Linked DNA regions of Homo sapiens: regions 1, 2, 4, 5 and 6 are each linked to region 3. Evidence: promoter capture Hi-C in human tissues and cell types (Jung and others, 2019). All regions are on one chromosome and are shown on one strand. The core of a region is centred on a gene start or on the middle of the fragment in contact, and the rest is flanking DNA. Distances in the headings are between cores, read along the strand shown. Region 1 overlaps EIF2AK4 (eukaryotic translation initiation factor 2 alpha kinase 4). Region 2 overlaps FSIP1 (fibrous sheath interacting protein 1). Region 3 holds the start of FSIP1 (fibrous sheath interacting protein 1). Region 4 overlaps EIF2AK4 (eukaryotic translation initiation factor 2 alpha kinase 4). Region 5 overlaps GPR176 (G protein-coupled receptor 176). Region 6 overlaps EIF2AK4 (eukaryotic translation initiation factor 2 alpha kinase 4).

Region 1 (4,616 bases), core at 109-2,608, 230 kb after region 3:
CCAGAGCAAAATGACTCCCTCCCTGCCCAAACAAATGCCCTCATTAAGCCTGTCCAGATTTGGGTCACCTCACCATTCAGCAAGTACAACTTTCCCCTTTTAATTCTTTTGTCAGGGTTTTTCAGATTTTAAAATAAGTTAATTACGGTTTTGTGTGAATTGGGAGAAAAAATTTTTTAATCACAGAATTCAATCTATCCTGTACCATTAGGAGCAGTTTGTTCAAAATGAAGGCTATACTTGTTAGAATTCGCCTGGAAATTGTGTCTTGTTCAGTGCCAGATTTCGCGACTCTCATTGTTACCTTTTTCTTCCACGTTAGACAGAGAAGCTGACGAGGAGAGAAGTGGAAGCTAAATTTTGTAATCTGTCTTTGTCTTCTAATAGTGTAAGTACCTTCTAATGGTATTATTACAGCTTTCTCTGTAATTTTGTGATACCAGAAAATGTCATCAAATTCTCGTTGCAGTAGGGTAGCAGCCAGCGCTTCCTACCACCTCGCAGATGCAGTTTTTCCCTTGAGTGTTAGGTACCATGGCAACCTCTGGGATTAGGAGAAGGGAGAAACTAATGCTGTGATCAAAGAATGTCTCTCCATGCTTCTTCTTGATACGCTGTAATCATCCTGCTCTTTCTTGATCAGCAGATACTTTTCTTTGTCACCCCTTATAGAGCTGTGCCTGGTAGAGCCTCCTGCTGAACATACCTAATACCAGTTGTCCTCTTTTGAATTAGATTATACAGGACTAGAAGGAGGCACAGAATTCTGCAAATTCATCTGGGGAGCTACCCTTCCCCTACCTCCATGTCTTCTAACTCCTCAGAGTTGAATTAAAGCTCTAGCTTTTCTGGTATATCTCTTAATCTTAAAATCTTACATTTGATCCCATCATCAATAAGGGAAATCTTATGGAATAAACAGTTTGGTCATATTCTCTCTGTAGGCATCAGATTGATCCCAGATCTTTGGTACAGTAACCCACACTTAATTGAGTAGCTGAACAACAGAATACAACAGGGATTTTGTACATTTTCCTGAATATTTAAATAAGGAAAGTTTTTTTTTAATTTCCCGGAACCTGTCTAGGCCCTTGTCTGACACTCAATTATATGATCTTGCATTGATCAGCAAAATTCACATATGGGATAGATTAAAATATGATTGTACACAGGGCAGGAAGAGTCACTCAATCTTTCGGACACCTACAGTGTGGCAGGCACAATGGCAGGGATATAAAGAAGAGTCCATAGACTGCATTCAGCTTCTTGGTTCATATTGGCCTTTAAAAAGCCATAAGGGGATATGCACAGCATGTATCTGCCCTCAACTCTGTAAAACAGCTTTCAGAGGGCACACGGAAACCAGAGTTCAAAGAAATCACCCCTTTGCGGGTAGGGAAAGTAAACCAGATGCATAGCACTAGGAGTTCTGAAAATTGAGCCAGGTTAAATCTTAAATATTTAATATTGGGGGAGATAGTAATGATATGCAAAGTAACACAACAGCTAAATATCCAAATATGAAGGACAATATACAGTATTTACATATAATCTAAACATGTACACAGCACACACCTATGTGCAGAAATAGTCCCATGTGTAAATAGCACAGAGAATCTGCACAAGACTGCTCAGTTCAATGATTCTATACCCAAGTTTCCAACCCAAAAGGTTATTTGGACTAAAGTCACATTTCAGAACATCTTTTTTTTTTTTTAAGAAAGTCTTATAAATATACATTCGGACGTAATAGCCACATTGGTTGTTCACATGTCAACTTCTTTTCTTTCTGTTAAATCTCTAACCACTGGTTATTCGATGATGCTAAGTGTTAATTAGACGTGTCTGATTCAGTTAAAAACAGAAAAATAGTATCTAATAAAGGCATTTGGTACTTTGATTATTTTAAAATGGACTCTAAGGGTATTAGGAAGGGGAGTAGAAATATTGCCAAAGAGTTTCACATATCTGACCCAGTCCTCTTATTTCACAAATGAGACACCTGAGGCCCAAAGAGATGTTGTGATTTGTCCTGAGTCACATGGAGTTAGTTGATGATAGGGTGAGGACCAAAATCTGGAGATATTGACTTCAGTGCTTCTGGTAGTTTATTATTGGGGTAATTTAATGTTCAAATTTATAGAGAAGAAATCATTTTTATTTTCTTAAAAAAATATTTTAAATCGAATACATGATTTTAAATTTAAATTTTTTTCTTTTTATTTTTTTGAGACAGGGTCTTGCACTGTCACGCAGGCTAGATTACAGTGGCACAATCATAGTTCACTGTAACCTCAAGCTCTTGGGCTCAAGAGATCTTTCTGCCTCAGCCTCCCACTTAATTTTTTTTTCTTTTTTATAGCGGGATAGCAGGCGTGAGCCATTGCATCCAGCCAAAATTTTTATCTTTAATCCCTCTATTAGTCTGCTGTCACACTGCTAATAAAGATATATCCGAGAGTGGGTAATTTATAAAGGAAAGAGGTTTAATGGATTCACAGTTCCACATGGCTGGGGAGGCCTCACAATCATGGCAGAAGGCACGGAGGAGCAAGTCACGTCTTATATGGATGGCAGAAGGCAAGGAGGAGCAAGTCACATCTTATATGGATGGCAGAAGGCAAAGAGAGAGAACTTGTGCAGAGGAACTCCTCTTTATAAAACCATCAGATCTCGTGAGACTTATTCATTATCACAAGACCAGCATGGGAAGGACCCGCCCCCACGATTCAATTACCTCCCACTGGGTCCCTCCCATGACACAGGGGAATTGTGGGAGCTACAGTTCAAGATGAAATTTGCATGGGGACACAGCTAAACCATATCATTCTACCCATGGCCCCTCCCAAATTTCATGTCCTCACATCTCAAAACCAATCATGCCTTCCTGACAGTCCCCCACAGTCTTAACTCATTTCAGCATTAACTCAAAAGTCCACAGTCCAAAGTCTCATCTGAAACAAGGCAAGTCCCTTCCGCCTATGAGCCTGTAAAATCAAAAACAAGTGAGTTACTTCCTGGATACAATGAGAGTACAGGCATTGGATAAATACACCCATTCCAAATGGGAGAAATTGGCCAAAACAAAGGGGCTAAAGGCCCCATGCAAGTCTAGAATCCAGCAGGGCAGTCAAATCTGAAAGCTCCAAAATGATCTCCTTTGACTCCATGTCTCACACCCAGGTGATGCTGATGCCAGGGGTAGGCTCCCATGGCCTTGGGCAGCTCCCCACCTGTGGCTTTGCAGGGTACAGCCTCCCTCCTGGATGCTTCCATGGACTAGCATTTAGTAGGGACTCTGTATGGGGGCTGCAAACCCACATTTCCCTTCTGCACTGCCCTAGCAGAGGTTCTCCATAAGAGCCCCACCCCTGCAGCAAACTTCTGCCTGGGCATCCAGGCGTTTCCATACATCCTCTGTAATCTAGGCGGAGGTTCCCAAACCTCAATTCTTGTTTTCCGTGCATCTGCAGGCTCAACAGCACATGGAAGCTGCCAAAGCTTGGGGCTTGAACCCTCTGAAGCAACAGCCTGAGCTGTACATACCTTGGCCCCCTTTAGCCATGGGTGGAGCAGCTTAGACACAGGGCACCAAGTCCCTAAGCTACATAGAGGAGGGGGGCCCTGGGGCCAGCCCACGAAACCATTTTTTCCTCCTAGGCCTCCAGGCCTGTGATGGGAGGGCCTGCCATGAAGACCTCTGACATGCCCTGGAGACATTTTCCCCATTGTTTTGGTGATTAACACTTGGCTCCTTGTTACTTATGCAAATTTCTGCCGCTGGCTTGAATTTTTCCTCAGAGAATGGGGTTTTCTTTCCTGTCTCATTGTCAGGCTGCAAATTTTCTGAATTTTTATGCTCTGTTTTCCTTTTAAAACTGAATGGTCTTAACAGCACCCAAGTCACCTCTTGATGCTTTGTTGCTTAGAAATTTATTCTGCCAGGTACCCAAAATCATCTCCCTCAAGTTCAAAGTTTCACAAATCTCTAGGGCAGGGGCAAAATTCTGCCAGTCTCTTTGCTAAAACATAGCAAGAATCACCTTTACTTCAGTTCCCAACAAGTTCCTCATCTCCATCTGAGACCACCTCAGCCTGGATTTCATTGACCACATCATTATCAGCATTTTGGTCAAAGCCATTCAACAAGTCTCTAGGAAGTTCCAAACTTTCCCCCATTTTCCTGTCTTCTTCTGAGCCCTCCAAACTGTTCCAACCTCTGCCTGTTACCCAGTTCCAAAGTCACTTCCACATTTTTGGGTATCTTTACAGCCCAACTCTACCGGTACCAATTTACTGTATTAGTTTGTTCTCGTGCTGCTAATAAAGACATACACGAAACTGCGTAATTTATAAAGGAAAGAGGTTTAATGAACTCACAGTTCTCTGTGGCTGAGGAGGCCTCACAATCATGGTGGAAAGCAAAGAGGAACAAGTCATGTCTTACATGGTTGGCAGCAGGCAAAGAGAGAGAACTTGTGCAGGGAAACTCCTCTTTATAAAACCATCAGATCTTGTGAGACTTATTCACTATCATGAGACTATCATGGGAAGGACCCGCCCACATGATTCAGTTACCTCCCACTGGATCCCTCCCATGACACATGGGAATTGTA
Region 2 (5,000 bases), core at 2,285-4,784, 170 kb before region 3:
TTGACCTCAAAGAACAGCCAGCAGGCTGGCCCAACAGCAACACCAACAGCAAGGTGTACCTGTCTGGGGTTGTTACCAGCTGGCCTATCCATAATCAAATGCTAAACTAACTAGTGAAGGTCTACCACTGTGAAAGAAAACCTTCAAGGCCAAAAGAGGTGGCCATTTCCTCAAATGTGTAGACAACAAGGTTTAGAAAGAATCAGGGAAATGTGACACAACAAAAAGAAACTAATAAAGCCCCAATAATGGACCCTGAAAAAAATGTAGAGCTATGAAAAAAGAATGAAGAAAGCCTACATAAATCTATGGGACACCATCAAGAAAACTAACTTTCTTATAATAAAATTCTAAGAAAGATATGATAAAGAAAAAGGCCCAGAAAATATATTTAAGAAAATATGGCTGAAAGTTTCCAAAATTTGTGGAAATATGACAACATCCAGGTATAGAAAGCTCAGAGATCTCCAATTAAATTCAAGCCAAAGATGAGTGCACCAAGACAAATCATAATCAAACTATTAAAAAACAAAGACGGTCAGGCGCAGTGGCTCATGCCTGTAATCCCAGCACTTTGGGAGGTCGAGGCGGGCAGATCACGATGTCAGCCTGGCCAATATGGTGAAACCCCATCTCTGCTAAAAATACAAAAATTTGCTGGGCATGGTGGTGCGTGCCTGCAGTCTCAGCTACTCAGGAGGCTGAGGCAGGAGAATCGCTTGAACCCAGGAGGCAGAGGCTGCAGTGAGCCAGGATCATGCCACTGCAGTCTAGTCTGGGTGACAGAGCAAGACTCTGCCTTAAAATAAAATTAAATTAAAATTAAAATAAAACAAAGACAAAGAATCCTGAAAGCAGTAAGAGATCAGGAATGTATAATATTCAAGGGAGTCCCAAAACAGCAACCAGCAGATTTCTCAGCAGAATCCCTGCAAGCCATAAAAGGGTGGGATAATATAATCAAAGTGTAGAAGAAAAACAAAACTGGCAACCAAGAATACTTAACTCAGCAAAGCTATTCCTCAGAAATAAGGGATAAATAAAAACTTTCCCAAACAAACAAAAACTAAGTAAGTTTATCACCACTAGGCCTGCCTAACAGGAAATGCTAAAGGGAGCTAAGCTGAAATAAAAGGCTCCTAATTGATACATAAAACTTATAAAAGCAAAAAGCACTAAATGGTGTAAGTAAGACATAGTCATATTCAGAATAATACTGTAAGGATGATGTGTAAAGGAATTTTCTCTGTATTATGAGAGTTAAAAAACAAAACTATTAAAAACAAATGCAGCTATAATAAATTGTTAAAGGAATCCAAATTACAAAAAGATGTAAAATTTACATCTAAATCATAAAAGTTGTCGGGGGGAGGGCGTTAAAGTATTGAGATTTTATATGTGATAAAAGTTATCAGCTTAAAATAGCCTGTTATAATAAGATATTTTGTTGTTGTTTTTTTTTATTTTTTAAGGAGATGGAGTCTTGCTATATTGCCCAGGCAGGGCTCAAACTCCTTGGCTGAAGTGATCTTCCCACTTCATCCTTCCAAGTAGATGGGACTACAGGTATGCACAACCATGCCCAGCCTGTACAAGATGTTTTATATAAACCTGATGGTAAACACAAATAAAAACCTGTAATAGTTGCACAAAATATAAAAGGAAAAGATTCAAAGCATACCATCACAGAAAATTATCAAACCACAAAGGAAAGTAGCAAGAGAGGAAGAAAGAAACAACAGCTCTACAAAACAACCAGAAGCAAATTACAAAATGGCAGTAGCATGTCCTTACCTATCAGCAATTACCTTGAATGTAAATGGATTAAAGTCGCTAGTCAAAACACATAGAGTGGCTGAATGGGTTGAAAAAATAGTAATAAAAGGCCAACTATATGCTACCTGTGAGAGACTCACTTTACTAGTAAGAAAATACATGGACAAAGTGAAGGGATGGAAAAGTTACTCCATGCAAATGAAAACCAAAAGAGAGCAGGGGTTAGCTATACTTATATCAGACAAAATAGACTTTAAGTCAAAAGCTACACAAAGAGACAAAGAAGGTCATTATATAATGATAAAGGGATCATTTCATTAAGAGGACATAATTGTAAACATATACACACCCAACACTGGAACACCTAAATACATAAAGCAATTATTACATGATCTGAGAGATAGACTGCAATAGTATAAGAGTAGGGGACCTCAATACCCCACTTTCAATGATGAAGAGATCATCTAGACAGAAAATCAATAAGAAAACATTGGACTTGAATTACACTTTAAATCAAATGGACCTCACATTCATATACAAAACATCACACCCTACAGCAAGAAAATACACATTCTTCTCAAGCACACATGGGACATTCTCCAGGATAGGCCACAAAACAAGTCTTAATGAACTCAAGAGGATTTTAATCATATCAAGTATCTTTTCTGATCACAGTGGCATGAAACTAGAAATCTATAACAAGAAATCTTGGTGAATTCACAAATATGTGGAAATTAAACAACATGCTCCTAAACAAACAATAGGTCAGAGGGGGGAAAAAAGGAAATCAAACTATATTTTGAGACAAACAAAAATGGAAACACAACATATCAAAACTAATGGGATGCTGACAAAAGCAGTTCTAAGTGGGAAATATAAAACAATAAATGCTTATTATCAAAGAAAAAATCTCAAATAAACAATCTAATGTTAAACCTCAAAAAACTAGAAAAAGAACCAACTAAGTCCAAAGTTAGCAGAAGAAAGAAAATAACAAATATTAGAGCCAAAATAAACAAAATGGAGACTAGCAACAATAGAAAAAATCAACAAAACTAAGAATTGGCTTTTTGAAAAGATAAACAAAATTGACAAACCCTTAGCTAGACTAACTAGGAAAAGAAAGAAAGAAAACTCAAATAAATCAAATCCTCTGAACTCATCACACCATCATGTAATGGGAAGATAATGATTATGACCATATTTTTGTCTCATGATAGTTTTAGCTTATACAAAAAGTCTTAATATAAACGACCAAAAATAAAGAAATGCTTAAATTATGATACATCATAAGATACATTGCAGCCATCATAATGAATGATTTAGAAGAATATTTAATAACACAGAATGCTCAAAATATAAAAGAAAAAAATATCAGAATATATTATAAGAAGAATATGAAGACAATTTAAAATACACAACTAGAAAAAAGATGAATGTTAATATTAACAATGAATAGGTCTGGACAATGATTTTATCTTCTACACTTTTCTGTATGTTTCAAATAGCCTTCAACAAATTTACATTTGTTGTGCGATTAGAAAGCAATAACAAATACTTTTTAAAGTCTTTAAGCTCAAAACTTCTGCTTATTTAAAACAAAACGAAAATGAAATGAAAGAGGAGACATTACAACTGATACCAAAGAAATACAAAGGGTAATTATGTAAAATTATATGCCAACATATAATAACCTAGATATTTTATTGGATAACCTAGATGTGAACAGATTCCTGGACACATACATCCTGCCAAGGCTGAATCATAAAGAAACAAAAATCTGAACAGACCACTAATGAGCAAGGAGGTTGACTCAGTAATAAAAAGCCTCCTATCAAAAAAAGGCCCAGGGCCAGATGGCTTTACTACTGAATTCTACCAAACATTTAAAGAAGAACTAATACCAGTGCTTCTCAAACTCTTCCAAAAAACTGAAGTGGAAGAAAGCCTTCTGAACTCATTTTACAAGACCAGCATTACCCAGATACCAAAGCCAGAGAAGAATACCACAAGAAAAAAAAATTGCAGGCCAATATCCCTGATAAACACAGATGTGAAAATCCTCAACAAAGTACTAGCAAACCGAATTCAAAAGCAATTAAAAGAATCATTCACATGATCAAATGGGCTTTATCCCTGGTATGCAAGGATGGTTCAGCATATGCAAATTAATAAGTGGGATATACCACATTAATAAAATGAAGGATAAAAACCATATGATAATCTCAATAGATGAAGAAAAAGCATTTGACAAAATTCAACACCATTTCATGATAAAAATTCTCAACAGATTAGGTATAGAGGTAAAGTACATAATAAAGGCCATATAAGATAAATCTGTAACTAACATCATACTCAACGGTGAAAAGTAGAAAGCTTTTCCACAAGGATGCCCACTCTCACCACTTTTTTTCAACATAGTACTTAATGTCCTGGCCAGAGTTACGCAAGAAAAACAAATAAAAGGCATCCTAATAGGAAATGAAGAAATGAAACTATCTCTCTTTGCTGATGACATGATCTTGTATATAGAAAATGCTAAAGACTCCACCAAAAAACTGTCAGAAGTGACAAAAAAAAATCAGTAAAGTTACAGGATATAAAATCAACATACAAAAATCAGGAGCATTTCTATACATTAAGAACAAACTATCTAAATAGGAAATTAAGAAAACAATCCCATTAACAATTGTCTCTAATAAAAAAAATTAACCAAGGAGGTGAAAGAACTATATATTGACAACTATAGAACACTGATGAAAGAAAGTGAAGAAAAAGCAAATCAATTAAAAGATGTCCCATGTTCCCAGCCTGGCCCACATGGTGAAATCTCGTCTCTACTAAAGATAGAAAAAATTAGCCGGGCGTGGTGGCACGCACCTGTAATTTTGGCTACTCGGGAGGCTGAGGCAGGAGAATCGCCTGAACCCAGGAGGCGGAGGTTGCAGTGAGCCAAGATCATGCCATTGCACTCCAGCCTGGGTGACAGGGCAAGACTCCATCTCAAAAAAAAAAAAAAAAAAAGAAGATGTACCATATTCATGGACTGAAAGAATTAATGGTTAAAATGTTCACACTATCCAAAGTCATCTATAGATTTAATGCAATTCCTATCAAAAATCCAATGTCATTTTCACAGAAATATAAAAGAAACAATCCTTAAATCTGTATGGAACCACAATAGACCCTGAATAGCCAAAGAAATCTTGACCAAAAAAGAAGCT
Region 3 (4,446 bases), core at 584-3,083:
TAAAACTTGTAGTCTTCAAAAGATGTTAAGACAAGGAAAACAAAACCCAAAGACTAGGAGCAAATATTTGCAAAACACATATCTGACAAAGGACTCATATCCAGAATATATAAACAAGTATCAAGACTCAATAACAAGAAAACAAAGGATTTGGACACACACATCACCCCAGATGATGTACGGATGGCAAAAGAGCACATGAAAAGATGTTCAACATCATTACCCCTCAAAAAAATAAAATAAAAATCACAATGAGATACCACTACACACCTATTCAAATGACAAAAATTAATTTTTTAGAAAACTGACAATACCAAGTGCTGACAAAGTTGGAGAGCAACTGTAACACTCATATTGCCAATGACAATGCAAAATCATCACTTTTCAAAACTGCTTAGCAGTTTCTTATAAAGTTAAACATATATTTACCATATGACTCCACAATCTCATTCATATTTACCCAAGAAATGAAAACATATTCACACACACAAAAAAAAACCTGTACATGAATATTTATACCAGCTTCATCAATAATAGCCAACAACTGGAAAGAACTCATCCAAATATGCCTCAAGTAGGAAATGGATAAATATACTACCGTAGATCCATACAATGGACTATTACTCAGCAACATAAAGGAACAACTGATACACAGAACATGAATGAATAGCAACTGCATGATGCTAAGCTGAAAGAAGCCTGATTCAAAAGGCCACAGGGTGTTTGCTTCCATCAATATGACATTCTGGAATAGGCAAAATTACAGGAACAAAAAACTAGGAAGTTGTTGCCAGGGATGGCGTTAGGGGAGGGATTAAATACAAAGAGCACTAGGGAATTTGGGGTTCATGATGAAACTTCCGTATGCTGATTGTGGTGGTTGGTAATTACATAACTGTATACATTTGTCAAAACTCACAGAACTGTAGATTAAATGGGTGAGGCTTACCATAAGTAAGTTATACCTCAATTTTAAGTTAATATATTTGTGCCAATCTTTCTTTAGTTATGCTCATACATCCATAAAATATATTAGAATTGCTGAGTCAAAGAACACTTATGTTTCAAATTTTGGTAGTTCGCCAAATTGTACTCCAAAAAGGCTGCACCAAATTACACTACTTCCCCTACACTGGGCTGGGGCCCATCTGGTTATGTCAAAGCTGTTTCATCTTCTCCAGTCTCATAGGTGTAAAAGGTATCTGTGAATTTGGTTTACATTTCTTCACGAGAAAAGTTGAGTCTCTAATCAATTGTTTGCTGTTTGCATCTTTTTATTTTTCCTGTGAAATGCCTATTTGCATCCTTTGCCGTTTACGGTCTAGTTTAAATGGCTGGTGATCAGTTCTAGATCTTGGTGGGAAGATCCAAATCTCGGGAAAGTAGAAGCCTTGGTTACAGGTCCTAATGTTAGGTGATTCCTGGAGAAATAGCCTCCGCGGAGGCAGAAGCCGCTGGGGCCCCGCCCCCAATGAGCCCGCCCCCGCCCTCTCATTGGCCCTGTCCGCTCTCCCTGACAGTCCATCTACATGCCAAGCGGCCCGACGCAGCTCCGCCCCGCCCACTCCTCGGCGCACCGCCCCGCGACCGAGCTCCGCCCTCATCTGCGCGGCCCCTCACCTTCCCGCCGGGCCTCCTCGAGGAACTGGCCGCCGTCAGTCAGGGCGCAGATGGCCGCAGAAGCGCGCCGCAGACACTCGCCGCGCCAGCCACTTACCCCCAGAGGAGAGGGGTCTCTCCCGCCACCTCAGCCTCTCTGGTAGTGGAAGAAGCCGCCGGTCCAGATCCCTCCTGCCTGTGGGACCGCTGTTTCCCTGGCAACCAGATGCGCGATGCTTCCGGTCTCGCGATAGCGGAAAGGGCTGTACCATCCGGAAATGGGACCGGGGCCGGCGGCTGTTGGAGCCCTGCGAGCTGGGACGGCCGGCGTGTGTCCTTCCGTCTTCGCTGCCGACGGTGGGGGTTGGGAGCGATTTTTCGTCTTTAGGTTGGATTCGGAACGCGGACGTCTGGATGCTTGTGTATCTCTGTCCCTCATATTGCTGTGATGCCTTACAGGTCAGTTATCCTCTCCGAGCACAGTTTCCTCCTCCGTAAAATGGGAACAATAATAATTCCCTTCTTACAAGACTTGTGCAGCTCAAAAAGACCATGTATGTGAAGCTCTAGTAAATTTGGGGTGCTATGGAAATTTTAAAAATATGAGTTTTGCACAGATTCGGCTACAGTCCAAAAAGAGTTATAATTGCTTTTTGCACCTTCTTTCATTTCGTAGTTTCTCTAATTCTCAGTGCACGAAAATTATTTCCCTACGTCCACAAACTGATTTTCCTCACCTCCATTGCCATCATTTCTCCTGCTTTCCAGTCTGAACAGCACATTACCGTTTACAGGGCATTTTCACATTCATGGCCCCTTTGTCCTCATTGTTTTAACTAGGTACGATGTGGTTTTTTTTCAGCGAAGCAAATAGTCGTAGGCTGAGTTGCCGAAAGAACACAGCTGCAGTCTAGGCGAGTGCTGGGTATAAAAACCTGGCTATAAATGCCATCCCTATGCTCCTGAATCCTGCATCTTATCACCAGCCCAGACTTCCCTGAACTCCAGACTCCTTTACCTAACTGCCTATTTGGCATATCCACTTAGATGTGTAAGCATCTCAAACTTAACACGGGAAAAAACAACTTCTCCAGAGTCCCCCACCCACTTTCTATCCATCTCAGCAAATGGTAATTTCAGCCTGCCATGCCTAGACCAAAAACCTTGGAGTCATCCTCAATTCTTCTTCCTCTCTCACTCTACAATCTATTTGTCCTATCAGCTCAACATTCAAAATATATTCAGAATCCAAACATTCGTCACAACTTCAGTGCTTCCATTCAGGTTCATACTGACATCATCTCTAAATGATAAGGCTTTCTGTTGGCTCTCTGACCTCCACTCCTACCTACTGCTTTCCCCTGGTAAACCTGGTTCCAGCCTCACTGTCCTCATTGTTAGTGTTTCTGTGCAGGGATTTCTTCCCAGCATTTCTCAGGGAATTTATGTGGCTTTCCAAATCTCAAAAGAAAAAAAGTTGCAAACTGAAGAAAATGGGAGAAAGTATCCTAATCCTCCTATGAGAATTAAAACTTAGCAGCCGACCTAGAGATGTTACTGAAGAAATTCACCAATGTCAAGTTGAAAACCAGCACAGGAAATGCTGAGTTCGAGGTTGAGGTGAACATTTTCAGGAACCAGGTCAGGAGCACTTGGGAGAGACATGGCCACAATCTCATCAGTCAGTCTTGTTTGTAGTTGGTGCCATGAAAGCCTATGTTCCTGGCCCTGTGTGCCGCTGGCAGTGAGTCATTCTTGCAAATAAAATATAAATAGGTTGATACTCATTGTATACTTTATACAAATTCTATGAGCAGTGTTCAAAAAAGTAACGGGTTTTGGATTCAAAGTAAATCCTTAAATTGACAGTTTCCAACCCATGATTCTGGGTAGTACAGTTAACCCTGCTAGGAGATCTATTATTTGAATACTCCTCAATAATGTTCTCTGTGTTTTCCAGCATTTGAATATTTGCTATAAACCCCACTTCTTGTAAACACTTCTAAATTTAATAGTTCTCATTTTTTAAACAAAGGCTTCAGATACTTGTAATAATGAGTAAAGAATATGAAGAAGGTAGAGAATATTTTAAGAATAAGATTTTGAGAACAGCTGGTAATTCTGATTTCCTGTTTCTGCATCCCAAAGATCAGTATCTGTCAGGAATTTGGAAACACTTGTTGTTCCTCCAGTCCAAATACACACACACACACACCAGCCTGAAATACAGTTTCCCAGCTATCCACCTGGTTTGCTCCTCTCTTTCCTCAGGCGTCCGCTTCCTCAGGAGGGCCTTTCCCAACCACCCTGTATAAAATAATTATCCCCATCTCCACACTCCCTACCCTCTGTCCCCTCAACCCTGCTTTATTTTTTTATGAAGAAGAGAGATGACATTATTTGGATTTTGATATTAAACAGCTAGGTTATCTTAGGTAAATACATAAGCTTTTGTGGGCCACAGTTTCTTCATTTGAAAAATGAAGTTGGACTAGTTTTGCAGTGCTTAACTGCACAGAGCATTAGAATCACCTGGGGAGACTTCATAAACTACACAACCAGGGGTGTACCTGAGATCAAATGAATCTAGGCCTTCTCAACTTTAATGTGCAGACAAATCACCGAGGAATCTTGTTAAAAATGCTGATTCAAAAAAAAAAATGTTGATTCAGTATCAGGTGAGACCTGAGACTAACAGGCTCCTAGATGATGCCAATGCTCCCCGTCCACCGACCGCTGTTTACCTAGCGGCAAGACGAGATCATTGCCAAGTGCCTGCACGGTTCTCATACACCATAAACGAAGGCCATTCTTTCCAGTTTTTAATTTGGTGACTAATAGTGTCCA
Region 4 (4,950 bases), core at 571-3,070, 170 kb after region 3:
GTTTGATTTATTTCAGCAACGTGAAATCCTGCATGAGATTCAGAGAAGGAAAGAAGAGATAAAAGAAGAGAAAAAAAGGAAAGAAATGGCTAAGCAGGTACCCTATCAACTCCACCATAATAATTTACATTTTGCAAAACAAAGTGTTTTTATTTCCACTGATGACATCTGTGTTACTATCAGTAATACAGCTTAAAATAAAGCACTAAAAATAAATAAATATTCACTGTGTATTTCAGACTCCCTAAATAGGTGGCAAAATTTAGAGTTTTATGTTGTCAGTAGATGATTTAGACTTACATAATTACTGTAATTTATCAAATGAGGGAGGGAAGAGATTGCGTCTTTAATAATTAACCTGGACTAAAATTGTTCTTTTTTTTGAGACAGAGTCTCATTCTGTCGCCCAGGCTGGAGTGCAGTGGTATGATCTCAGCCCACTGTAACCTCCACCTCCCAGGTTCAAGCAATTCTCATGCCTCAGCCTCCCGAGTATCTGGGATTACAGGCGTATGCCACTACGCCTGGCTAATTTTTGTATTTTTTAGTAGAGATGGGGTTTTGCCATGTTGGCCAGGCTGGTCCTCAACTTCTGGCCTCAAGTGATCCACCCACCTTGGCCTCCCAAAGTGTTGGGATTACAGGCGTGAGCCACTGCACCTGGCCTAGAATTCTTAATACTTGGAAAATAAAATGATTTGTTGATACTGAAGAGGGAATAGAAACCATATGGATCTGCCTGAAATTTCATCCAGTGATGAAAAAGAGTAATTCAACAGAGCAGATTTAAAAGGCAGTGGTGAAAAAGGATAGAGTGCTTTTTCCTTTATTTTTCCTGAGTCTAGCTCAAGCAAAAAACCAGTCAGACGTGTTTGGAGAAATTCAGAGAAAATTTTACTCATTCTCTTTTACATAAATTAGAGCATTAAACTTAAGGGACATGATGTGGTAGCAGGAAGAGGCACTGAAGCACAAGCAAGCTTCTCCTGGTTTAAAGCTTCAGCTTTCCTGCTGCCTCACTTTGTGACCTTGGCAAGGTGACATTCTCTGTGACTCTCTTTACTTGTCCCTTAAAATGGGACTGATAATGCCTTTCTTTCTGTCTTGTATAATTACCTCCACAGATAAGTGTACTGCCCTATGTGAAACTAAACCTGCGTAAAAATGTAAGATGAGATCCCTGTTTCCACCAGTGCTCCTGTCTTGCTCCTGACCTGCCTTCCTGTCAGCCACTCTCTGCCCTCTCTTTGATTCTCCCTTCTTCTGTTCATCTCCTGTTACTCTTCTCCCTAACTTTTTACACTATTGCAAGATTCTAAGCATTTTCATTTATAAAATTTACATTTTCTTGAAACCATAACCTGGACTTCAGTTCTTGAGCCAGTACATATTTAGGCATTAACATTTTTTTAATTTTATTTTTTAATTGACCAATAATAGTTGTATATATTCATGGAGTATATAGTGAAGTTTTGATACATATAATGTATAGTGATCGGATCAGGGTAATTAGCACATCCGTCACTGCAAATATTTAGCATTTCTTTGTGTTGGAAACATTCAATATCCTCCTTCTAGCTATTTTAAACGATTAAAAGTTAAGTTCAATTTTATTTCACTTGTAAACATTCAGCTTAAAATTTGCATTCTATACTGAATTAATAATTATGTACCATGATTTTCTTCCATGTATGACTTACATCTAAAGTAAGTTTTACTTTTCTTGTTCTAGGAACGTTTGGAAATTGCTAGTTTGTCAAACCAAGATCATACCTCTAAGAAGGACCCAGGAGGACACAGAACGGCTGCCATTCTACATGGAGGCTCTCCTGACTTTGTAGGAAATGGTAAACATCGGGCAAACTCCTCAGGAAGGTCTAGGTAAGTCCCTGGGATTTCTGATCTGGGAGAATGACAGATGTAGAAGGATTTTACTACATTGAAGATGTAGTGAAATTTGATGGAAATTTCAGGCGATAGTCTTAATAACTTTTTTCAAACCTTATATATCTTAATATATTAGCAATATATTAGGTGTATTTTTAGCAATATGAAACTAAATTGCGTTTAACACTTTCCAAGTATCTATCATGAATCTAGTTTTGTTGCTCATTCCCTTTTTTTTTTTTTTTTTTTGAGACGGTGTCTCGCTCTGTCACCCAGGCTGCAGTGCAATGGCACGGGCTCAGCTCACTGCAACCTCTGCCTTCTGGGTTCAAGCGATTCTCCTGCCTCAGCCTCCCAAGTAGCTGGGACTACAGGCATGTGCCACCACACCTGGCTAATTTTTGTATGTTTAGTAGAGTTGGGGTTTCACTGTGTTGGCCAGGCTGGTCTCGAACTCCTGACCTCGTGATCCACCCGCCTCGGCCTCCCAAAATGCTGGGATTACAGGCATGAGCCACCACACCCAGCCTCATTCCCCTTTATAACAGCCTATAACACATCACAAACTTGCCTTAGTACGATTTAACATTTATAAACTTAAATTCAGTAAGTGATTTTAAAATTTTTCTTCCATTTGAATCATCATCATCCAGTGTTTCAGTCTACAATGCCTTAGGTCCCACCACAGTTGTAAGGAGTGCCTGAAAATGAGCACAGGTGAGACATCTGTTACATGAGAGTAGGAACCCCAGTTGGCTGCCAGGGGTCCCCTCCCTAATACTGAGGTGGGCTCCTGGGCTGTTCCCTGTCACCACTGGTCACTTAAAAGATACTACTTGTTCTTCTATATCTTTTTCACTGAAGAATTCCAACTTTGCTCTCTATTTGCTGTGGCCCCCTGTACACCAGAAAGGAATTTTGGTGAAGAAACCATTTATGAGTGGGGTGGGTTATTAAATAGTGTAGGGACTTCAACCTTCATTGTATGTTTAAATTATCTCTTGTGAGACTCTAAGCACAACTTAAAACCACCACTTTGCTTCCATGAAAAGAAACATTTTAGGCACCAAACTGAAGATTTATATAAACTTCTGTATAGTTTGTTTATTAGAAGGAGCCATTTTAGTTCTTTCCCTAATTATCTACTACTAAAAAAACAGTTCAGAAATCATTTTGACACTAATGTTTACCTACTATTAGGTTTAACTAAATTTTTAAAAAAATACTGTTTCTGGTAACCATTCCTTTTTAAGATTATAACTCCTTCCCAATTTAAATTATTTTTGAATCTGGGCTTCTAATAAGCAACAGAGTTTGAAGTTGTCAGAGAATTTCACTAGGAAATATCTAACAAATTTTTGTTGTATTAGAACCTTTGAATTAAATCAATGATATAAATAAGTCTTTTCAGATATATGGAAGATGATTGTTTTAAGTTTAAACATTTCTATTTTTGTGGCTAACTATAAACAGTGAATCCAAGGTTAGGCTTGTTTTTGAGATCAGAGATAGCACGCTGGGCACGGTGGCTCATGTGTGTGACCCCAACACTTTGGGATGCCAAGGCTGAAGGATCACTTGAGCCCAGGAGTTCAAGACCAGCCTGGGCAACAAACTCCTTCCCATCTCAGAGCCTCTGCCGACCCCTCTGCCTGGACTACTCAACCTCTGGCATTTTGCTTGCTGAGCCCCTCCTTCTCATTCAGTTCTCCCCTCAAATGCAACCTTCTCAGGGATGCCTTCCTGAGCCCCCCTCTACCCTATTTCCCTGCTTTGTCCCTTGCTCTCCAATTCTCTGCTTTATTTTTTACATAACACTTAGCACTAGCTGAAATTGTTATTCACTTGTTTACTTTGGAATGTGAGGTCTGTGAGAGCAAAGCCCTCATCTGTGTTTTCCTCAAAGCCTGAAATCGTGCCTGGAAGACACATGGTAGGTGCCTGGTCAACATCTGATGCAGGGAGGGAGCCAGGGAGGGAAGATGACACAGGGAAAGTGGGACACTGTGTTTCTGGTGTTTGTAGGGTCTACAGCCTCTTTAACCAGGGCAGTTTTGCTTCTCTTGATCTGTGGGGTATGTAAAAAACCAGTGAGGTTTTATTTAACAAAAGATGTTCACGCTGAAAAGAAGAGAAAGAGAGAAAAGAGAACCACTCACTATTCTAGTGGAAAGAACGTAAAGGCCTGATACTCAAAGGCTTTTCACTGATGAGTCTTGGCTTTTGTTGAAGAACTTTATTTTCTGTGCTTCAAGTCTTCTTTTCCCACCTTGAAGGATTCACTTTTTAGAATATTAAGGTAAAAATCAAAAAACATAAAATTAGCTATTTTAATGTGTACAGTTCAGCGTGAGGCTGTATTTGTGAAGTGCAGACATAGTCCCCCCAACCCACTGCCTTGTTTCTGGGATGTTGCTCCTCATAAGTGGGCAATATGAATTTTGTAGAAGAAGCAAAACTAAAAAACCAAAAAACCTCTATAAAATAGCTCATGGTAGAAAATTACCTTCACATATTCAGACTTGCTGTCTTTGCAGATTACCGTAGTGTAGCCCAGAATCTAGAATATATCACCTATTTATATCTACCATCAACAAGATTAGGTTATCTAGTTTGTTTTCCCTATTCTAAAGCCAGGTATGGTAACTGCTGGCTCCTCACCCTTACAGAGAAGAGATCATTAAGGGTATAAGACATGGGATTCTCTCTGCTCTCCTCAAAAAACTTGGGGAACCATTAAAGTATAAAGGTGTAGGGGAGAGAGGATCCTTGATACGTCTCTCCAGACATGGTCCTCTGTTGTTCAGTTTCTGTGGTTGGTTCCATGGAGGCATAGACTGGTTTACCTCAAATTAAACAATATCAGGAATTCTTACTAATGTTGTCTCTACAAAGTGGCTCTGTGTTTCAAATTAAGGGACCTAGAACTAGCATTTTCTGTGGCATCTTGGTGAGTTAGACAGGAAGGTGAGACTATCCCTGCCCCTGTGTCTCAGATAAGATCCTCTTTCTCCCTCCTGCCCCAACATCTACACATTGATCATAATGGTAGAGCAATCTTTT
Region 5 (4,504 bases), core at 724-3,223, 130 kb after region 3:
GCTGAGGTGGGTGGATCACTTGAGCCCAGGAATTCCAGACCAGCCTGAGGACCATGGTGAAACCCCATCTCTACCAAGAAAAAAAAAAAATTATCCAGGTGTGGTGGCATGCGCCTGTAGTCCCAGCTACTTGGAGGCCGAGGTAGAAGGATCACCTGAGCCTGAGAGGTTGAGGCTGCAACGAGCTGTGATCGCACCACTTCACTCCAGCCTGGGTGACAGAGTGAGACCCTGTCTCAAAAAAAAAAAAAAACGAAAAGAAAAGGAAAAAACAACCTTTCACAACAGTTCCCAGTCACTACAGAATCTAAATGGCTTATTTAGATTTAGATTAAGTGACATATGCAGAAATTGTTTGGCAAACTCTAGGGACAAGAGACTTTGAGACTTGGACATCCCACAGGAAAACATAGCTATGTTTCTTTGTTCCCATTTTGAGACAAATTTCCTCCTAGTCTACAAAATGTCACCAAATAAAACAAAAGTATATTCATTACAGAACCAGGGATATTTGGAGCTGTCTGGCAGTTCCTAAAAAGAAGAGTTACCATATGATATAGCAATTTCACTCCTAGGTATATACTCAAGAGAACTGAAAACACATGTCCACATAAAAACTTGTACGTAAATATTCAGAGCAGCATTATTCATAATTGCCAAAAAGTAGAAACAACCCAAATGTCTATCAAACGAATGGATAAACAAAATGTAATATATCCATACAATGAAATATGATTCAGCAATAAAAAATAAAGTGCTAATATATGCTAAAACATGGATGAATCCTGAAAATATTATGCTAAGTGAAAAAAGCCAGTCACAAAAGACCACATATTGTGTGACAGATCTATGGAACAGGTAAATTTATAGAAACAGAAAGTAGGGCCAGGCCTGGAGGCTAACACCTATAATCCCAGCACTTCGGGAAGCTGAGGTTGACGGATTGCTTGAGTCCAGGAGTTTGAGACCAGCCTGGGCAATGTGGCAAAACTCCATCTCTACAAAAAGTACAAAAATTAGATGGGCATGGTGGCACACACTTGTAGTCCCATCTATTCAGAGGGCTGAGGCTGCAGAATCACTTGAGCCCGGGAAGTGGAGGTTGCAGTGAACTGAGATCGCACCACTGTACTCCAGCCTGGGAGACAGAATAAGACCCTGTCTCAAAAAAAAAAAAGAAAAAAGAAAGAAAGAAGGAAAGAAACTAAATGAGTGGTGATTGCCTAGGGCTCAAGGTATTGAGGGGAAAAAGGCAGTGCTACTACCGAAGGATACATGGTTTCTTTAGGTTACATGGTTTCTTTATGGGATGATAAAAACCTTCTGGAATTCAGTAGTAGTAGTGGTTGCACTACTTTGTGAATATGCTAAAAAACCATCGAGTTGGCCGGGCGCGGTGGCTCACGCCTGTAATCCCAGCACTTTGGGAGGCCAAGGCAGGCAGATCACAAGGTCAGGAGATCAAGACCATCCTGGCTAACACGGTGAAACCCTGTCTCTACTAAAAATACAAAACATTAGCCGGGCATGGTGGTGGGTGCCTGTAGTCCCAGCTGCTCGGGAGGCTGAGGCAGGAGAATGGCGTGAACCTGGGAGGCGGACCTCGCAGTGAGCTGAGATAGCGCCACCGCACTCCAGCCTGGACAACAGAGTGAGACTCAGTCTCAAAAAACAAACAAACAAACAAACAAAAAACACCACTGAGTTGTACTCTTTAATTGGATGGATTCTATATTGTATGAATTTTATCTCAATAAAGCTTTTTTTAAATTTTCACCAGAGAATTTAATTTCCAGGAAGAATTCTATCATATAGACATCATATAGAAATAAAAGACAATGTGAGGCAATTTGATTCAATATATTAAGCTAGTAACTATTGATCCTACCACCTCCTGCCTCCTTAGGCATCAATTCAGGATATCTTATTCTTTTTTTTTTTTTTTTTTTTTTGAGAAGGAGTCTCACTCTGTCACCCAGGCTGGAGTACAGTGGCACGATCTCTGCTCACTGCAACCTCTGCCTCCTGGGTTCAAGCCATTCTCCTGCTTCAGCCTCCTGAATAGCTGAGATTATAGGCGCCTACCACCATGCCCGGCTAATTTTTGTATTTTTTACTAGAGACAGGGTTTCACCATGTTGGCCAGGCTGGTCTCGAACACCTCAAGTGATCTGCCCGCCTTGGCCTCCCAAAGTGCTGGGATTACAGGCATGAGCCACCACACCTGGCCCAGGATACCTTATTCTTAACGTAGTCTGCTAGGTTTTTAGGCATACAAAAGACAGAAACTCCATGTAGAAGTAAGGCTGTTGATATTATATTATTATTGGCTGTAAGTATTGTTAACTAAAAATGATCCTGAGTAATTACAAATTATAAGTGCAAACTAGTATTATAGTATTAACACATCTTCTATCAAACATTTAACTAAGGAACTCCAAGAATAATCCAGCTATTCTCTGGTTAATTTCAAATAATATCAAAAGCACAAGTATACTTCTCTATCAAACAAGTACCATGAACCTTGCTGGTACCCCATATGATTTTGCTCAAAGACTATAAGCAAGCATGAGCAAAACTAGTGTCTATCCAACAGATCTGCTGAACAGATTTAACAAGTCGATTTCCCACCTTTCCCTTCAAATGAATACTTCAATAACCACCTCATGGAATCAAGCCACAGGCAAGTTGGATCTTTACTTGGGGTCATCAATTTCACATGCTCACTACAGACCATTCATAAGTGTATTAGTCTGCTCCAGCTGCTATAACAAAATACCAAAAGCTGGGTGGCTTTAAAAATAGACATTTCTTTCAGTTCTAGAGGTTAGGAAGTCTGAGATCAGAGTGCTAACGTGGTTGGGTTCTGGGGAGGGCCTTCTTCCTGGTTTGCAAACAGCTGCCTTCTGCTATATCCTCACATGGTGCAAAGAAAGAGAGGGCAAGCTCTCTAGTTCCTTCTTATAATGTTACTAATTCCATCTTGAGAACTCTATCCTCATGACCTCATCTAAACCTAATTATTTCCCAAAGGTACTACCTCCTAATAACATGACATTGGGGATTAGGGCTTCAACATATGAATTTGAGGGGGAATATAAACATTCAGTCTATAAAGGAAAGGGAATATAGCTTAAGAATAAGAACCATACATTTTGCGGTCTAGCCAGACAAAGGAAAGCTGATTTCTCTATTTAAAAAATGTTAAAAATCAGCTGAGCGCAGTGGCTCACTCCTGTAATCCCAGAACTTTGGCAGGGTGAGGCGGATGGATCATCTGAGGTCAGGAGTTCAAGACCATCCTGGCCAACTTGGTGAAACCCCGTCTCTACTAAAAATACAAAAAAAAATTAGCTGGGCGTGGTGGCAGGCACCTGTAATCCCAGCTACTTGGGAGGCTGAGGCAGGGGGAATTGCTTGAACCCAGGAGGCAGAGGTTGCAGTGAGCCAAGATTGTGCCACTGCACGCCAGCCTGAGCGACAGAGTGAGACGCCATCTCAAAACAAAAAGAATTAAAAAATAAATTGCAATGTAGGATACATACTTGTGGGTTATTGCCCACCATGTTAATTTTCTTTAAATAAAAGCAAATTCATTTATAAAAATCTCTTATACCTCTGATGATGATTGCCACAGATGACAGGCAACCTGTGTAGGAGGAGCTCAGAGGTAATAGGCTAGATCATAGCCACCTACCTTTTTCAAGTCAAAGCACCAGAGAGGAGCCCAGTTCTCTTGGTACTTAGACTGTGAATCTAAGGAGAAGGGGAAAAAGAGAAATATTAACTCTGAGGAGTTCAATCCACCATTTCCAGTTCAATTGGAAATGGTGATTCCAGATCTTTTGGAGTCTTTGATTTCACACTCTTGACTACTAAAAGTGATTGGTGCCATTGAAGAGGAATCTAAATTATTTTACTCTATTTCAGTATCTACAACATACCTAAAGATATGCCAAGATGTTGTATAAAGAAGGCTGAGAAACACTGGTTTACGCAAACCCCCAAAATACATATTATTTGAATAATATTATGTACAAGCCTTGTGTTCATTTTCAACACAGCAAATAATGTTCCTTCTGGTTGGAATATTACAGTTATTCCAAGTTCTTAGGGATTTTTCCTAATACAAGACACTAAAACAGTTTTCAAAAAGAGGTACAAGACACCAGTAGTACAAATGAATTATTTTCACATAATAATGGTCCTCTGGAAATCCCAATAAAAAAGAAGTCTATTTAGAGAATATAAGAAGTATATTTAAATTTGTTTCAAGAGAAAAAAATAAAGAAAAACGAATTTGTCTATGTTTGGGGGCAGAAGAAATAAGAAAAGTAAGTTACTTAATCAGTTATTTTTTCCAGGTACTATTCCATCCTCCCACAATTTACTTTTCAATCATACAGATTCCTTTTCTTTTATTCCTAATCTATGATTTTTCTCTATTTGGAGGCTTTATGAAATGTGCTTCCCAAGTTTTCTTGCCTTGCTTCTGACTGCACAT
Region 6 (4,644 bases), core at 161-2,660, 160 kb after region 3:
CAAGTCGTTTGTTAAGGAGAGCACCACGTCATCTCTTCAACGGCACTCTCTAAGCTTGTACTTATGTGTTTATTATGTTTGTTTTCCCCCACCAGACTGAAGTTCCATGAGAGCTGGAACCATATCTGTGTTCTCACCTCCGTGGACTAAGCACAGTGCCTGACACAGAGTCAGTGCTTAGCAAATATGGGTGATGGATGTGTGATGGGTGAATGAGTGGATGAAAGACCTGTGGACCAAAGAGTGCTTAACCCTTCCCCAGACCACATTCGCAGAATTATGCTTTATGGAAGGACCCACACATTTATCAAGGATTATTATAAAGCCATATAAGAACTGATCTTACAAATTTTGTACACATAGTAGAAGAGTACAGTGTTTATTATATGGTACTCCTTGTAAGGTTCACGTTATAAATTTCTGTTAGAATTTAGTATTATAAGTACTTTGCTTCCCTAAAATAATTTTTAGGCTTTCTCTTTTCTGATGATACCACGTTTCTCTTTTTGCCCTGCCTGCCAGGACATTCAGAGAAAAAAATCAAGGCTCAATCCCAGCAACTTAGGATGGCATAATAAAAGAGTGGCTTATGGGAGGAGACAGGGTTTGGAGTTAAGGCTGGGTTTGAATCCCAGCTCTGTCCCTGTGTATCTGTAGGCAAGAATGTAAAACTCCCTGAGCCTGAGCTTCTGTATCTGTAAAATGGAGATGACACCTGCCTTGCAAAGTTGGTAAGGTGCCTGGACCATGGGAGCGCTCAGCCATTGTTTTTTCTCTCAGACTCCCCTTGTTCATTATATACATATAATATGAACTACTTCAAATCCACTTTGGAAAAAGTGTATCTAAATTGAAGAACAAGGGTATTTTGCGATTTGGTGAAAAGTAGTTGATTGAAAACATATGCAATTCTCTCCTTGTCAAGGGTTTTCATTTGTTAATATCTCAGTATTCAGATCTCAATTCAAATCTCCCCTGCTCGCAGAGTCCTTCACTGACCTACCTGTCCAGATACCTTCTCCTCGCCCACCACTATGTCCCTCTACTCTGCTTTGTTTTCTTTACAGCACTCATCACTATTTGAAATCACTCGTCTTCTAGTTTGTATCAGCTGGTTGGGACTGTGTCTGTCTAAATTTACCCCTGCACTCCCAGCTTCCAGGAGAGCACCCAGGCATAATAACTCAGTAACATCTGAACGAATGGAAGCTGAGTGGAACATTTTGGTTCATTCCTTAGATAACTTAAAAAAGGAAAGTGCATTTTCACTGGCTTAGGTTTTGTTTTTAAATCATGCTTTTGGAAAGTATGCCAGATTATCTATTTAAAATATAATTACAAATATTTTTAAAGTAGAACTTTTGATCTAAAATGATCATTATCTTAATCATTAATGATTGGCTCTACAGCTTTGAAAAAAATTTTTTTTGTTTTTCCTCTTTTAGGTCAAAGAGCCCCCTGAAATCAATTTAGTTTTGTACCCTCAAGGCCTAACTGGTGAAGAAGTATATGTAAAAGTGGATTTGAGGGTTAAATGCCCACCTACCTATCCAGATGTGTGAGTACATTTATAAATAGCTTTGACGTGGTTTCAGTTTTCTGTTTTGACAACATAGAAACAGATTGAAATTCGTAGTATTTTCTCCTTCCTGCTCCCATTCCACATAAAATTTCATTTCCTCTATTTCAACAAAACTACATCAGCAATAGATGTTTTCATGAAACCTGTCTCATTTTAAGCCTGTTCATAGTTATAGAATTGTCACTACAGATACTTATATTTGCCTAGTGACTATTTTGCTTCCTCTGATGTGTTAACTTTTGTTTATTTATTTCTTCATAAGTTAGGAAGAGGAAAATTTGGAAGAAAACAATAAAGGCATGGTGACTGTTGAAAGCCCTTGCATAGTTAGAGTGTGGCTGGTATTAGAAATTCAGCAAGTCTGTGCCTCAGATGACCTTTCACTGCCTAGAGTGAGGGAGAGTATTTGGATCTGTCCTGCCTCTCAATGGGGCACTCTGGCGAGTGTCCATTGTGCAGGGCTGTGCTGTGCACTGCAGTACGTTTAGCATCCCTGGCCCCCACCTACCAATGCCACGAGTGTCCTCCAGGCATTGAAACAACCAAATAACCTACATATTTCCAGACTCCCTCTGAAGGTGATGTCACCTCTGGTTGAGAAAAACTAGTTAGAGCCAAAGTGTTAGCCATCAGCACTTAAGCATGTCTATTTGGTGTAATCTTTCCCCACCCATCCCACATGGAAAGGCAGGTTGGCCTGGATGGCGTTAAGTAGTTTGAAATTATTGTATGGGGAACCAGTGAAGGTTTTTGAGATGGAAAGGGACAAGTAAAAGGAAACTCTGCTTTACACAGTGGGTGGTAAATTTATGGAATTTATTATCCTAAGAAGTGATAGGGAGGATATGAAAAGACAGATAAGTCAAAATTGAGCTCCTTGAAGTCAGTAACCATTCTTGGCCCCCAAAACTGTCCTGAGAGTATTATAGTAGGTATACTATACATACTATAAAAATATTAATTAACGAAACGTTAATTATAAAACATTAATGAAAAAGATAATTAAAAATTTATGAAAGGAAATTAAAAGAGTGCCTCTCTAGGTTGTTTTTTTTTCCTGACACCAAATACATGATGCCTTTTCTGATACCATGTGGGTGTCCAGTAGTTCAGTTCAATTCTGACACTATCTGTAGTTAGCAAAGACCCCACAGATTAAGGACCCAGTTCCACAAGATTGCCTCCATTTCTGATGCTAGTGGCAAGTCCCAGTACTTCTGACCATTTATAGCCAGTATTTATAACTGGCTATAAATTTAGGGGTTTCCACCACCCCCTCCTAAGTTGCGATAATTGCTAGAATGCATCACAGAACTCAGTTTCTGTGAGTTACATTTACCAGTTTGTTGTAAAGGATATGGCTCTGGAATAGCCACATGGAAGTATTATGAAGGGTAAGGTGTGTGGGAAGAGGCACAGAGCTCCCATACCCTCTCCAGGCCTGGCACCCTCCCAGCACCTCCCTGTGTTCTTCAACCAAGAATCTCCCTGAACCCTGTCGTTTAGGGGTTTTTATGGAGGTTTCATTATGTAGAGATGATTGATTAATTAAATCTTTGGCCACTGGTGATTGAACTTGATCTTCAGCCCCCTACTCCTCCCTAAAGATCTGGGATGGGGCTGAAATTTCTCACCCTGTAATCAAGGCTTGGTTTTTCTGGTGACCAGTCCTGATCCTGAAGCTATCCAGGTACTGACCAGAGTTCCCTCATGAGTACTAACTCCGGTATGGTTGGAAGGGGTTTGTTATGAAAAACATAAGATGCTCCTCTCACCCCTGTTGCTCAGGAAATTCCAAGGGTGATAGGATCTCTGTGCCAGGAACAGGGGTCAAATATCAAATATATATTTTTTTATTATACCATAGCCTCAAGAATTCAAAGTGTTTATTCTTGAAAAATCAAAATAAAGAAAAAGGTATAAGTGCTATAATGTTATATAAGTGCTAAAATATTAATTATAGCATTATTTGTGAAAGCAAAGATATTGGAAGCAATCTAAATGTCAAATACTAGAGTGAGGTTTCTCCACCTTGGCACTACTGACATGTGGGCAGATAACTCTTTGTTGTGGGGTCCTTCCTGGGCATTGTGGGATATTTAGTAGCATCCCTGACCTCTGTCTGCTAGATGTCGGGAGTACATTTCTCCCCAGGTTGTGGCAACCAAAAAAAGTCTCCAGATGTTGGCAGATATCCCCTGGGGCCAAAATCACCCCTGGTTAAGAATCATGGCACTAGATAACTATTCAGGTAAATCTTAATGTGTCCACTTGATAAAAATATTATGGGATGATTGCTTTTAACATGGAAATGCTTATAAAAGTTAAAAAGCAAACATTATAATATCAGCTACATAAACTATGAATTATATAGCAAGGAAATAAAGAGAACATTAGAATTTTTTTTGAAGTTTAATTAGCATCATTGATGATTTTTTCTCCATTCTGTTAATATTGCTATATTATGATTACTTATTTTTTAAATTATAACAAAAATCTTAATTTGGGGTAATATTCTTATCCTTTTGAATGTGGTACAGGAAAACATTGCTTTTCTGCAGAATAGTCCTGGGTGCCACTGTGAGAGAGAGACTCCCGGGTTAGATTCTGGAATTCTGGAAATTTCAGCCCCATCCCAGACCTTTGGGGAGGAATTCTAGAAATTTCAGCCCCATCCCAGCTCTTTGGGGAGGAATCTAACCCAGGATTCCATACATAGAGTCAGGACTGTATGGTTTGTTTTTCTGTTCTTTCCCTCATATAGACTACTTTCTCTCAGATTTCTATCTATAGAAATAGATAATGATCATAGCACCCTTTCATACTGAAGCATTGAGAGAACGCATAGATAAGTGCATACTCAAGACTTCACTGGTTAAATGCCATGAATTACTCAGAAATGCTTGGTAAAAAGTGATGAGTCATCATCTCTTCAGTAAAATTAAATAACTCCTATTTAATCTGAGAGAGTTGTTATTGGATATTTATTGGTTGGGAATAAAATGAAACCCGAGGGCTGGTTGTGTAATGTCCTTGAGTTGAAAGTGTTGACTTAGATGAGC

The links. Contacts are between HindIII fragments. The study calls those that stand out against the background at their distance.
Region 1: a contact is called between a fragment that was not itself captured here and the fragment with the promoter of FSIP1 in region 3, in 1 of the 25 tissues and cell types used here (dorsolateral prefrontal cortex).
Region 2: a fragment that was not itself captured here is called in contact with the fragment with the promoter of FSIP1 in region 3 in 1 of the 25 tissues and cell types used here (IMR-90 fibroblasts).
Region 4: a contact is called between a fragment that was not itself captured here and the fragment with the promoter of FSIP1 in region 3, in 1 of the 25 tissues and cell types used here (IMR-90 fibroblasts).
Region 5: a contact is called between a fragment that was not itself captured here and the fragment with the promoter of FSIP1 in region 3, in 1 of the 25 tissues and cell types used here (dorsolateral prefrontal cortex).
Region 6: a fragment that was not itself captured here is called in contact with the fragment with the promoter of FSIP1 in region 3 in 3 of the 25 tissues and cell types used here (H1 embryonic stem cells, IMR-90 fibroblasts and hippocampus).

What each region holds. Positions count from the first base shown.
Region 1 is chr15:40,010,959-40,015,574 of GRCh38, forward strand. It overlaps EIF2AK4 (eukaryotic translation initiation factor 2 alpha kinase 4), which reads left to right. Exons shown (of 39, transcript NM_001013703.4): 27 at 323-388. Among named protein-coding and RNA genes, the nearest start is that of SRP14, 26 kb to the right of the region's middle. The HindIII fragment of the contact is 7,249 bases long and covers 1-4,616 here.
Region 2 is chr15:39,609,864-39,614,863 of GRCh38, forward strand. The region is part of intron 11 of FSIP1 (fibrous sheath interacting protein 1); the gene reads right to left. Among named protein-coding and RNA genes, the nearest start is that of THBS1-IT1, 26 kb to the left of the region's middle. The HindIII fragment of the contact is 5,221 bases long and covers 925-5,000 here.
Region 3 is chr15:39,781,008-39,785,453 of GRCh38, forward strand. FSIP1 (fibrous sheath interacting protein 1) reads right to left here and starts at 1,834. Exons shown (of 12, transcript NM_152597.5): 1 at 1,621-1,834. It overlaps LOC105370941 (a long non-coding RNA gene), which reads left to right and starts at 1,899. Exons shown (of 1, transcript NR_135665.1): 1 at 1,899-4,446. RefSeq lists a silencer at 1,464-1,643 and an enhancer at 1,944-2,073. The HindIII fragment of the contact is 15,521 bases long and covers 1-4,446 here.
Region 4 is chr15:39,953,888-39,958,837 of GRCh38, forward strand. EIF2AK4 (eukaryotic translation initiation factor 2 alpha kinase 4) reads left to right here. Exons shown (of 39, transcript NM_001013703.4): 5 at 17-97; 6 at 1,733-1,881. Among named protein-coding and RNA genes, the nearest start is that of EIF2AK4, 22 kb to the left of the region's middle. The HindIII fragment of the contact is 5,820 bases long and covers 1-4,730 here.
Region 5 is chr15:39,912,380-39,916,883 of GRCh38, forward strand. All of the region lies in intron 1 of GPR176 (G protein-coupled receptor 176), which reads right to left. Among named protein-coding and RNA genes, the nearest start is that of GPR176, 5.6 kb to the right of the region's middle. The HindIII fragment of the contact is 5,160 bases long and covers 1-4,504 here.
Region 6 is chr15:39,938,060-39,942,703 of GRCh38, forward strand. EIF2AK4 (eukaryotic translation initiation factor 2 alpha kinase 4) reads left to right here. Exons shown (of 39, transcript NM_001013703.4): 2 at 1,446-1,558. Among named protein-coding and RNA genes, the nearest start is that of EIF2AK4, 6.3 kb to the left of the region's middle. RefSeq lists an enhancer at 1,863-1,952. The HindIII fragment of the contact is 4,750 bases long and covers 1-3,785 here.